Linked DNA regions of Homo sapiens: regions 1, 2 and 3 are each linked to region 4. The links are contacts of gene promoters, found by promoter capture Hi-C in blood cells and fetal thymus (Javierre and others, 2016). All regions are on one chromosome and are shown on one strand. Each heading gives the region's core, a stretch centred on a gene start or on the middle of the fragment in contact. The rest is flanking DNA. Distances are from core to core; before and after follow the strand shown.

Region 1 (3,132 bases), core at 503-3,002, 370 kb after region 4:
CCAACAAAAATTGCCTTTATTGGAAGGGCATGGTTTACAGTTCCCAGATTCTTTTTTTTTTTTTTTTTTGAGACAAAGTCTCACTCTGTTGCTCAGGCTGGAGTGCAGGGGCGCTATCTTAGCTCATTGCAACCTCCGCCTCCAGAGTTCAAGCAATTCTCCTGCCTCAGCCTACCAAGTAGCTGAGACTGCAGGTGTGTACCACCATACTCAGCTAATTTTTGTATTTTTAGTAGAGATAGGGTTTCACCCTGTTGGCCAGGCTGGTGTTGAGCTCCTGACCTCAGATGATCCACCCACCTTGGCCTCCCAAAGTGCTGGGATTACAGGTGTGAGCCACTGCACCCGACCAACGGTTCCCAGATTCTTAATCCAACAAGAGTATGACAGGCTTGTAGCTGTTGTCCGTTTCTTCCTGCTCACCTTTCTCATGGAAGGAATTTCAAAAGAAACCACGAGGTGTTTGTATGTGTTTATCTTTTGGAAGAACAGAAGTATGGGAAATGTATAAATTGAAATGGCTTCTAAACTAAATAGTTTTTAAAAAAAAGACAGCTATATTTTAGCATAAGAAACAGTATTAGATTGAAGAGATTCTCTACATAACACTTTGTTTAGTATAAACAGAAATTAATCTGTTCATGGTCCTAAATTGGGCTCAGAGTTTCTCTTAGTGAGAAACCCATCCGTTTATACTTTCCCATATGCCATTTTTGAAAGATTCTACCCTAGTAAACTAAAATTTTACGGTTTATGAATAATACTGTTAAGCTTCCTTTCGGTGAAGAAAGCTACTACTTTAGCTGTAGTAATCAAAACGGTATGGTACTAGCCTAAAAATGGACACCTAGACCAATGGTGCCGAGTAGAGAAGCCAGGAATAATGCTCTTCCCCATACACATGGTCAACTTACCTTCAACAAGGCACCAAGAAAATAAAACAGAGGAAGGATGGTCTCTTCAATAAATGGTGTGGAAAACTGGATATCCACAGGCAAAAGAATGAGACTGAACTCCTTTCTTACATCATACACAAAAATCAACTAAAAATGTATGAAGGATTTAAACGTAAGACCTGAAACTGTAAAACTTCTAGAAGAAAACGTAGAGGAAAAGCTCCTTGACATTGGTCTTGGTGATAATTGTTTGGACATGACAACAAAAGCACAGACAACAAAAGTAAAAATAAACAAGTGGGATTATATCAAACTAAAAGGTCTGCAGAGCAAAGGAAACAATTGAAAAGAAAACCTACAGAATGGGAGAAACTGTCTGCAACCCACATACCTGATAAAAGGTTAACAACCACAATATACAAGGAACTCAAACAGTTCACTAGCAAAGAAACCTCCAAATAACCCAATTTAAAAATGGGTACTGGCTGGGTGTGGTGGCTCACGTCTGTAATCCCAGGGCTTTGGGAGGTCGAGGCGGGCAGATTACTTGAGGTCAGGAGATTGAGACCAGCCTGGCCAACATGGTGAAAGCCTGTCTCTACTAAAAACACAAAAATTAGCTGGGCGTGGTGGCGCATGCCTGTAACCCCAGCTACTTGGGAGGCTGAGGCAGGAGAATCGCTGGAACCTGGGAGGTGCAGGTTGCAGTGAGCCGAGATTGCGCCATTGCACTCCAGCCTGGGTAACAGGAGCAAGACTCCGTCTCAAAAAAAAAAAAAAATCATAATCAGAGATCACCTCATTGGGAGGATGGCTATTATATTAAAAACGAAATGGCCGGGCGCAGTGGCTCACGCCTGTAATCTCGGAACTTTGGGAGGCCGAGGTGGACGGATCACCTGAGGTCAGGAGTTCGAGACCAGCCTGACCAACATGGAGAAACCCTGTCTCTACTGAAAATACAAATTAGCCAGGCATGGTGGTGCATGCCTGTAATCCCAGCTACTCAGGAGGCTGAGGCAGGAGAATCGCTTGAACCCGGGAGGTGGAGGTCGTCGTGAGCCGAGATTGCACCATTGCACTCCAGCCTGGGCAACAAGGGCAAAACTCTGTCTCAAAAAAAAAAGAAAAGATAAGTGTTGGCGAATATGTGGGAAAACAGAAACTCTGATACATTATTGGCGTGAATGTAAATTGGTACAGCTATTATGGAAAACGGTGTGGAGGTTACTCAAACAATTAAAAATAGAACGATCATATGATCCAGCAATCCTAATTTTGGGTATTTATCCAAAGGAACTGAAATCAGGATCTCAAAGAGACACTGCCCTCCCATGCTCGCTGCAGTGTTATTCACAATAGCCAAGATATGGAAACAACCGACATGTCCATCGACGGAGGAATGGATGAAGAAGCATGGTATGTATATGCAATGGAATGGGGTTCAGTCATAAAAACAGAAGTGACATTCTGCCACTTGTGACAATTTGGCTGAGCCTGGAGGACATCATGCTAACCGAAATAGGCCACATACAGAAAGACAAATACTGCCTGGTTTCAGTGTGATGAGGAACTTGAAATGGTCGAACTCATAGAAGTAGAGAGCAGGACGGTGGTTGCCAAGGGCTGGAGGAGGAGAAATGGAAAGTGATGGTCAAAGGTACAAAATTTTAGTTATGCAAGATAAATAAATTCTAGAGACCTACTACAGCATAGTGCCTATAGCTAACAATACTGTCTTGGATACTTAAAATTCGCTAAGAGGGCAGATCTTCTATTAAGTGCTCTTACCACAAAATAATAATGATAATAAAAAAGGGGGTGGGAGGAAGCTTGGGAAAGTGATGGGCATGTCTATGGCCTTGGTGGTGGTGATGGTTTCACAGGGGTATACTTATGCCTAAATTCATCGAGTTGGATACATTAAATATGTACAGCTCTTTATATGTCAATCATACCTCAATAAAGTGGTCTTAAAGGAACAAATACTTTTTATACTCCGTCTTTAAAATAATAAAAGGGAAAGTCTTATTCTTTTCATAATTATATGGCTCTTGGGAAAGATACAGTAAGCAGGTGTACCCTGCATGGCTGAGAAACTGAGTGGAAGTGTGATTTACTTTTATTTATTTATTTTTTCTAAGATGGAGTCTCACTCTGTTGCCCAGGGTGGAGTGCAGTGGTACAATCTTGGCTCACTGCAACCTCCGCCTTCCGGGTTCAAGCGATTCTCTTG
Region 2 (2,999 bases), core at 294-2,793, 450 kb before region 4:
CCTGTGCTCCCAGCTACTAGGGAGACTAAATCAGGAGGATCACTTGAGCCCAGGAATTTAAGGCTGCAGTGAGCCAAGATTGTGCCACTGCACTCCAGCCTCGGCAACAGTTTTTAAAAAGCCAGTTTTTAAAAGATTCAATGGCTTATTCATCCCCTAGAGGTAGATGTACACTTCATAACGGAGTGTCTGAAATTAAGAGTGGTCCTGATTTATAGGATTTCCTAATCAAAATGTCTGCTGAATCAATTTGGGTTTTATCTTGGAAGAAAAAAGATTTTTTTTTTTTGCCTGTTTGTCATTTGTCTTGTTGTTTGTCATTTGTGAGACCTTGTCTGAAAACAAAAAAAGGAAAAAGATTGTGACTGCTTCTGAGAAAGCTCCTGGTGTGGCTAGAGTGGCCTTGTGGGAAAAGAACAAATTCTGTAAAGAAGAAAGCAAGAAAAAGCAAGTACTTCTCCCCACACATCCCCTCGCCCGTTTGCGTCCTCTGGAGACTCCAGGCAGTAGCGGAGCACAAACAGGGCTCTTCTCGGCGTGAGACAGAAAAGACACCGCGGTGAGTTAGCTTTCCCAGGAACTGCACGGCCTCCCACCTACAGCCAACCCTGATCTTGAACCGCGACTGGCAGGGTTGAGTCCTTTACAAGCGCACACTCAAATTCAACTCTCAAATTCCCCTTCAAAACTGTCCAGGTCCCTCCAGTCCCCTAAATGGAGTTGACATCTCCCACCTTCTCCAGCCATAAACCGGTGGGAGAAAGGGTCGGCCCCAACCCACCCACGGCCAAGCTTTTACATTTTCTCCCCGACCCCGTAACACCACCTTCACTAAGTTCCTCCACCGAAAATCACAACGAAATGTATGCGTGTCCTCAGTTTTTAGTATTGTTATAGCCCTCAAGATTCCCAACCCTCGGAGCCCTGTCTTTAAAGAATCCAACCTCACGATGCCCCCAAGGGCTAAGACAGGCTCACGGTGATGCCAGCGGCTGCCCCCGCTCTCCCCGTCTATCCCCGGTCTTTGGCCCCGACGGCCACCAGTGCGTTCCTTCCCTGCAGCCCACACCACTTCTCCCACCCAGAGGTGGGGTCTATTTCCTATTCCTTAAATCTGGGCTGACCTTGTGACTTTCTATGACCAAAGGAATGCAGAAGTGACATTTCCTGACGTTGGAATCCAGGCCTTAAGAGGACTGGCAGCTTCTGTTTCCTCCCTCTTGAAAGCCAGCTGCTATGTAAGAAGGCTGACTTCCCTGAGACCACCACGCTGTGAGGAGGCCCCAGCCGAGGTGACGTGGCTATGCAGACGAGCACAAAGGCACTCGACAAGTGAGTGAAGGCTTGGTGGACCATCCAGCTCAGCCAAGCTGCCGGCCAAATGTAGCCGAGTGAGTAAGCCCAGCTGGTAGCAAGTAGAGCAAGAGCCACCCAGCTGTGCCCACTCGACCCGCAGAATCCTGAGGAATAATAAATTATGTCGCTTTAAGCCATTAGGTTTTGAGGTAGTTTGTCATGCAGTAATAGATAAAGATAGCTTTTACTTTCCTAAGAAAGAGACCAAGGACTACAAAGAAAAAATGGGCAAAAGAAAGAAATAGTTCATACAGAATGAAATGCAAATGATCCTTAAACATCAAGAGATGCTCAACCCCAGTTGTAATAAGAGAAATGCAAATTAAATTGCCCTTAGACATCATTTTGCGCAATTCAATTTGGCAAAAATCCAAAATTGTAAAATACATCGTTGGTGTGGCTGTGAGGAAACAGGTTTGGTTGTGGAGAATACAAAATTGTACAAACCTTATGGAGAGCAGTTTGGCATTGCTTATAAAAAATACAAATGTATTGGCCGGGCGCGATGGCTCATGCCTGTAATCCCAGCACTTTGGGAGGCCGAGGCGGGTGGATCACGAGGTCAGGAGATCGAGACCATCCTCGCTAACACAGTGAAACCCCGTCTCAACTAAAAATACAAAAAATTAGCCAGGCATGGTGGCGGGCACCTGTATTCCTAGCTACTCAGGAGGGTGAGGCAGGAGAATGGCGTGAACCCGGGAAGCGGAGCTTGCAGTGAGCTGAGATGGTGCCACTGCACTCCAGCCTGGGCGACAGAGCAAGACTCCGTCTCAAAAAAAACAAAAAACAAACAAACAAACAAAAAAATGTATTTATCCTTTGACCCAGCAATCCTACCTCTGAAAATCTATTCTACAGACAGATATTCACGAGTATAAAATGACCCATGAACGAGGTTATACACTACAGCACTGTTTGTAATGGTAAAAGCTTGGAAACAAGCCAAGGGCCTGCCCATGGGGAGCTGGCTGAATAAACATGAAACACAACTGGAAGAAAGAATAAGGAGCTACTTCAGGATATAGTAAGAAAAAAAAGAAGGTGCAAGATACTGTATCAATGATGTTACCTTTCTGTAAGAAAAGAGTGGAAAATAGGAATAAATATATTTGCATTTCCTTGTTGTAGTTGTATAAAGAAATACAGAAAAATAAACAGAAAATGAATAAAAATGGTTATGTGAGTGTGAGAGAGACAATTGTGGGGAAGATGAAGATGGGAGTTAGAATTTTTTTTGTATAGTTTTATACCCCATTTTAATTTTTAATTTTTTAGAGACACAGTCTTGCACTCTTGCCCAGGCTGGAGGTGCAATGGTGTGATCATGGCTCACTGCAGCCTCGAACTTCTGGGCTTAAGCAGTCCTCTTGCCTCAGCCTCTCGAGTAGCTGGGAATACAGGCACACACCACTATGCCCGGCTAAATACAGGCACACGGCACTATGCCTGGCTAAGTTTAATTAAAAATTGTAGAGATGGGGCTTCGCTATGTTGCCTAAGCTGGTCTTGAACTCTTGGCCTCAAGTGATCCTCCTGCCTTGATCTCCCAAAGTGTTGAGGTTATACGTGTGAGCCACCGTGCCCAGCCTATACTTATTTTATGCCTCATCATGTCATTTTGACTTTTGAACCATGCAAAC
Region 3 (3,019 bases), core at 218-2,717, 320 kb after region 4:
ATTTGCCAAGCTAAGGAGTTTGGATTTTATGGTAAAATCGGTGGAGTCAAAGATGGTAAGCAAGGGAAATTCCATAGAAGATAAGCGTATGGGGTTGAAGAAAGCTGATGACTGATGCCACCCAGGAAATCTGGGCTGTTTAAATTCAAGTAATAGGTAAATGAGGGTTCCAACTCAAACAGGGACAGCATTGATGGAGAACAGGAGACAGATAATCATGTATTAGAATAAATAAGGCATGGTTTTCATAGGCAAATAGGTGAGAGTGGCAAGTGAGGAGAAAGCTGACTCACAGGTAGGGTTGCCAAACGTCCTGTATTTAATGATTTTGTCCTGAATCCTGTATTAACTTTGTTAGGATGCCTTAAATGTATTCAGGGTTTCTCCCCTCATTAATGAAAAATCAGCACTTTGAGCTACGGTTCTGCTTCAGTAATTGGCGCTTAAATCGCTTAAGTGGCAATACAAGTTGGAAATCATACCTCCACAAATAAAGATCTGAACCATCTCTTATGTTTTATCCTATGTGTTTGACTGAGGGAAGGCAAAAGGGGGAAGTGAGAATAAAAGTACTTGTTTTCCGTATTAAAGAAAGGAAAAGACTGTTCTTTTGGCCAAATTCCTAAGTTGTAAAATAATCCCCAATAATTAGATCTTTGGATCAGTACACGTGGTCTGAAAAATCAATGATGGCCTCGCTGCCAGCAGCCATGCTTCTGAAATCAACTTCCTGACAGCCTCCAGCTTCTGAATGCCACTTGAGTGCTGCTTCTAGACCACGGTTGGTCAGCAAGTCCCTCCTTCCAGTGACCGTGCTTCTGGAAGTTAGCCAGTCGACAACCGTCTAATTCCAGTGACCACACTAACACGCTTGAAAATCTAACAGTCCATAAACATCCCTGCCTCTGAAAATTCGCCAGTCCCAGACACTGAGCTGCTTAAAATTTTGGATAAGATCAGCTCTGGCTTTCTTCAGGGATCCTGTTACTGCAAACACAGTTCTCCCTTGCAGGCATGCATCAAGTTCGACTTTTCTGTGTCACATATCAAGTTCAAGTTTATTGTTAGTTTGTAAGCTTCCAACCTTTCAATAGCTCAGCCTCAATTTATTGGTAATTATGCTTCACTCTTGTGAGTGAGATGATCGAAATTAGTATTTTCAATTATTGTTATTAACTTATTTTTTATTTTATATTTTGTGTTAAGGATACTTAATATGAGATCTACCCTATTGCCTATTTTCATTTATGTATATTTGAATCAAAATGCAAGTATAAGTTTCATGATTAATTTTTAAAATATTTGGTATCAGAGAAAAGATGTTTTGAAGCTCTTTCTACAGTACACAATTGTTCATTCAGTATTGAACATATTGGAAAGTCAGATATAAGGCAGGATATACTAACAGCTAAGCCTAAGTGATAGATGATTTCCTCAAATAGTGCTAAAGAAACGGATAAAGTAACAAATTTTCCGATGAAAGGAAATTCAGATAAAAATAAAACAACCATAGCAGAAATTGTAATGACTTTCCACACTCAATCTTTTCAGCTCAAATGACCAATGGAAACACACCAAAAGTATTTCCTGCTTCCAAAATTGCAAACGAATTTTCAAGTGCCAGGATAAAATCTGCAGTAATAAAAATGTAATCTTTCTGTTTACTATTAGAGACTATATAAAAGATCTAAAATGTCTCTTTTTACAGTATAACCCCAGATGCAAATAATCACAATGAGAATTTTTTTTTTTTTTTTTTTTTTTTTTTTTTTGCCTCTGCAATGTTTTTCTTTTGAAAACCTGTGCTTATAAAGCTATCTTATCCCTTCTAGATGAGACCTGGGAAATTGAAGCTTTTTGCAGAAACTAAATTGAGTTAATAAGTCAAATTGTATTCCTTTGGTTGATATAATACAAATACAAATTTATGTAGATGTGTAGAAGTGCAAACAATTTTTTTTTTTTTTTTTGAGACGGGGTCTCGCATTGTCGCCTGGCCTGGAGTGTAATGGTAAGATCTCGGCTCACTGCAACCTCCGCCTCCCGGGTTCAAGCGATTTTCATGCCTCAGCCACCCAAGTAGCTGGGATTACAGGCACCTGCCACCATGCCCGGCTAATTTTTTTTTTTTTTTTTTTTTTTTTTTTGTATTTTTAGTGGAGATGGGGTTTCACCATGTTGGCCAGACTGGTCTCGAACTCCTGACCTCATGATCCACCCGCCTCAGCCTCCCAAAGTGCTGGGATTACAGGAGTGAGCCACCGCGCCCCGCCAGAAGTGCAAACAATTGTTATTCAAAATTAAAGCAAAGCCTGAAGTAGGCTGTAGAAGGTGTCCTATCCATATTCTGCGTTTCTGCATGATGCTACACAGACAACCTCTGATAGCCATCCTATTGACACTGAAGTCATCATGAAATTGTTCCCTTCCTCGGCATTTAAACTGTTTAAACTGAGCAGTTAAAGGACTTTTGTGATTCTGTTGTCATTCGATATTCTTCTATTCTTCATTCTTCAATTCTCTCTTTCATTCTCTAGCACTCAGAAATTTGTTGGAACCCCCAGTTTCAACTACAACATGCAAACGGCTTGGAAGTAGTCACCCCTATCCTTATAAGAAAAAGCTAGTCAAGCTGAAAAGCAGTGACTTTTATCTTTCTGAGAACTGAAGTCACAACTGTGAAATCTGGAGAGACGGGTGTATCCAGAGACACAGCTGAGATCTGTTTACTTGGAGCCCACTGGAGCCAAAACTGGTCGGAAAACTAACAGGTAATTTTGATGAATTGCTGGAGGTTGAATATGGACTAAACTGAGAATGTGGAACTTCTGGGTCCATAGTCATAACGGGTCCCGCATACCGCCACTGCCATTAGCTCCAGGAATCCCAGCAGATTCCCAAGGTCATGATCTGAGAAATATCCCCTGAGGGCTGTGGCAGAAGAAGGGGAATCATTGTGAAATACACCCAGAGTCTTCTCCATAAAAGCCGACACTCTAGGGAAAAAAAGCTTGCCAGA
Region 4 (3,109 bases), core at 283-2,782:
CATGCCTGTAGTCCCAGCTACCAGGGAGGTTGAGGCTGCAGTGAGCCATGTCCGTGCCACTGCACTCCAGCCTGGGTAACAGAGTGAGACCCTGTCTCAAAAAAGGGAAAGAAAAAAAAAAAAAAGCATGAGACAGGCTCTGAGGCAAGGGAAACACCTTCCTTCCAGAGTTTCTCAGCTACCAAGCCCTCTGGTCCTTCCCTGAGCTTCACTGGGTAGAGAAGCTCAACAACAGATGAAGAAGTTTACCACGTCTAGACCCTGAAGGCAGTTCAAGCAAAAAGAAGCCTTCACTCACCTGTACATGGGCTGGCAGCAACCTCCTTGCCATTTCTCCCTCCCTGCTGCCTCTCTTGGAGAAGGCACCTGGAATGGAGAAAAAAGCTGTGAGGTCTTTTCATCCAGCCTGCATGCCCACCCTCATTAGGCCAGACCAGGTTAGAAGCCATAAGCTGAGCACCTGCAGAGAAGGAGCCTGGAACTGCCCAGGCCAGAGGGGCCCTAAGTCCGGCCACTTAAACCAGTGTGGGAAGCAGGTTCAGAGTCACCGGGCCTGCTACCTTTCTGCCAGTGCTTTACGATAAAGACGAAAGGAGCGAAGGGATGAAGACCATCTGCCGTGCCTTAACAGGGTCAAGGGCAGAATCAGGCAAGGCTCATTCAGATAAAGTAATAGGAAATGACACAATATTCCACACATCTGCACTTGGATGTTGTTCAATACGAAAAACAGCAGTTGAAGAACTGATGCTCTTTTTTAGGAACAGCCAACCAAAAATTAGTCCTCTTTTCTTCCTCTTGTAAGATTTACTTCCTTTATCAAAAACAGTTATCAAAGCTGCTTAAAGGTAGCGTTACCCATTCTCCCTGGCCCCAAAAAAACAAGGGCGCAAGAAAACAGCATCACTAGCTAGAAATTGATTTAAAATTTAGAGAAATGGGAAGAAACGTAGCAAGTGGACATGGTTACGGTAAATAAAAAAAGAAATAGTTAAATCACTCTAGGACTGGCTGTAGGAAAACACTGCCAAACGTGCAAGACTGCCAAAAACGAGTAAATCTAAAGTTTAAACTCCGGGAAACGGAGTAGGGGGAGGCTTAAACCCACAAACACTAAGAGCGAAAAACCGCCCGGAGGGCTCCGGACCCTGAACCGAGGCGGCATTTTGCAGTTTCTGTTCTGGAGCCGTTTCCCCCGGAGTCCGGCCCAGGCTGCGGCCCAGGAGTCCAGCGGCGTCGAAGCGCCCTCCCGGCCTCCGCCAGGCCCTTCCCAGGCCACGCCCCCTCCGGGGCCGGGTTCACCTGCCGAGGCCGCCCCGGCTCGGACGCCCGGAGCCGGGGACTCGGCAGACACGCGCAGAGGCCAGCCCTCGTCCTGGTCCCGCCGCGGCAGCCGCACGCCCCGGGCCCGCCCTCACCGGCAGCCTGTACCTGGGCCCGCCTCGGCGGGGGGCGCGCAGCTCCACACCGCACAAGAGGCGAGCGGAACACCTAATTCAGAGACGTTTCCCGTCGCTGCCGGGCGCAACTGCGCCTGCGCGCCGGAGAGCCGACGGGTTTCCCTGGCTGAACCGCAGCGTTTGTCCCTCCGGACTTCATTTCCCAGACGTCGCTGCGGCACCACCACTTACGGTGTCCGAGAGAGAACCACAGCGCCGAGAGCGGAGAACGCGGTCGGGCTGTGGAGTTCGAGAAGGCTGAAGCCGAGTCCCTCAGCTTGGGCTCCAACTACTCTCCCTCCGCTAAACCACCCATTGTATTCGTAATTAGAATGACAAAAATAGTAAGACGGAAAAGTGAGTATGAATTTTTAAATCTGGAAGACTAGCCGCTGCTGATTATTCGCAGGTGGTGACAGAACTATTACAGTCCATTCTGCGATTTTAATTAAAAATGAATTATGTCTAAATTTTATAATCTCGGCCGGGCGCGGTGGCTTATGCCTGTAATCGCAGCACTTTGGGAGGCCGAGGTGGGCGGATCACAAGGTCAGGAGACCGAGACCATCTTGGCCAACATGGTGCAACCCTGTCTCTACGAAAACACGAAAAATTAGTCGGGCGTGGTGGCACATGCCTGTAATCCCAGCTATTCGGGAGGCTGAGGCAGGAGAATCGCTTGAACCTGGGAGGCGAAGGTTGCGGTGAGCTCAGATCGCGCCATTGCACTCCAGCCTGGGTGACAGAGCAAGACTCTGTCTCAAATAAATAAATAAATAAATAAATAAATTTTTGTAATCTTTACATATTTACTGGCACTCAGAGTAAAACAAAAGCATAAGCCTAGTATTTCCCTCTTCATGGCACTCACTTCTTTTGAAGTGACTTCTTTAAAACGTAAAATAAAGCCCAACTCCCAGCGCTATCATCACAACTGCATCCTCGGTGACCGGCACTGTACACGCCAAATACTATGTGCTCAGAAAGTGTTGATTTTTAAAATATCAAACATTAGCGTTTACAGAGACAAACCTAAACACAAAGGGTACTTGAAGATAGAAAATGCAGAGAGGGACTAAGAGATATCAGGTAGATAATATGAAAAAGAAATCTTGGATCACGATGTTACAACAATACAAAGATTATTGCAATGTAAAAATAATTAAATCGAACAAAATGGATGTTTTATATTGTTAAAAGATAATAATGCACATCACTAATCATTAGGGGAATGCAGATCAAAGCAGATCAAACATCCACTGCGATTTCACACTCATTAGGTTGGCTATTATAAAATTTGGAAAAAAAAGAAAACCAGAAAACAATCCTTGTGCCTTAATGGTGGGAATGTAAAATGGTAGCGCTGCGCTGGAAAACGGTATGGCAGTTCCTCAAAAAAAAATTAAATGTAGAATTAACACATGGGCAATTCCATTTCTGGACCATATGTTATTTCTATATTTAATTATTATTTTAAAATAATAATAATAAAGATATGACAGTTATAGACCATTATTGACAAAACAACATAGCATTGAGATTTACAAAGTAAAAGGTGCCAGACTGAGTACCCATGATTACCTCCCTTTTTCTCTTCATATTCTTCAAAGTAACCCCAAACACATATAATTTTCAAAGGAGCAAATCTAATGCAACTCTAGAAAAATACC

What was found. The method cuts DNA at HindIII sites, captures the fragments that hold promoters and counts their contacts. A CHiCAGO score of 5 or more calls a contact.
Region 1: a contact is called between a fragment that was not itself captured here and the fragment with the promoter of ZNF879 in region 4, in 1 of 17 cell types (erythroblasts). The highest score is 6.8, in erythroblasts.
Region 2: a contact is called between a fragment that was not itself captured here and the fragment with the promoter of ZNF879 in region 4, in 1 of 17 cell types (endothelial precursors). The highest score is 5.3, in endothelial precursors.
Region 3: a fragment that was not itself captured here is called in contact with the fragment with the promoter of ZNF879 in region 4 in 4 of 17 cell types (monocytes, naive CD8 T cells, total CD4 T cells and 1 more); the score reaches 6.4 in monocytes.

The regions. Positions count from the first base shown.
Region 1 is chr5:178,652,308-178,655,439 of GRCh38, reverse strand. No RefSeq gene overlaps it. Among named protein-coding and RNA genes, the nearest start is that of CLK4, 27 kb to the right of the region's middle. The HindIII fragment of the contact is 1,957 bases long and covers 774-2,730 here.
Region 2 is chr5:179,473,709-179,476,707 of GRCh38, reverse strand. No RefSeq gene overlaps it. Among named protein-coding and RNA genes, the nearest start is that of RUFY1, 75 kb to the left of the region's middle. The HindIII fragment of the contact is 1,497 bases long and covers 795-2,291 here.
Region 3 is chr5:178,706,691-178,709,709 of GRCh38, reverse strand. It overlaps a transcript of MSANTD5 not described here. Among named protein-coding and RNA genes, the nearest start is that of MSANTD5, 10 kb to the right of the region's middle. The HindIII fragment of the contact is 777 bases long and covers 1,079-1,855 here.
Region 4 is chr5:179,022,227-179,025,335 of GRCh38, reverse strand. ZNF879 (zinc finger protein 879) reads right to left here and starts at 1,532. Exons shown (of 5, transcript NM_001136116.3): 1 at 1,432-1,532; 2 at 299-366. The coding sequence starts at 331. RefSeq lists an enhancer at 1,403-1,904. The HindIII fragment of the contact is 13,349 bases long and covers 1-3,109 here.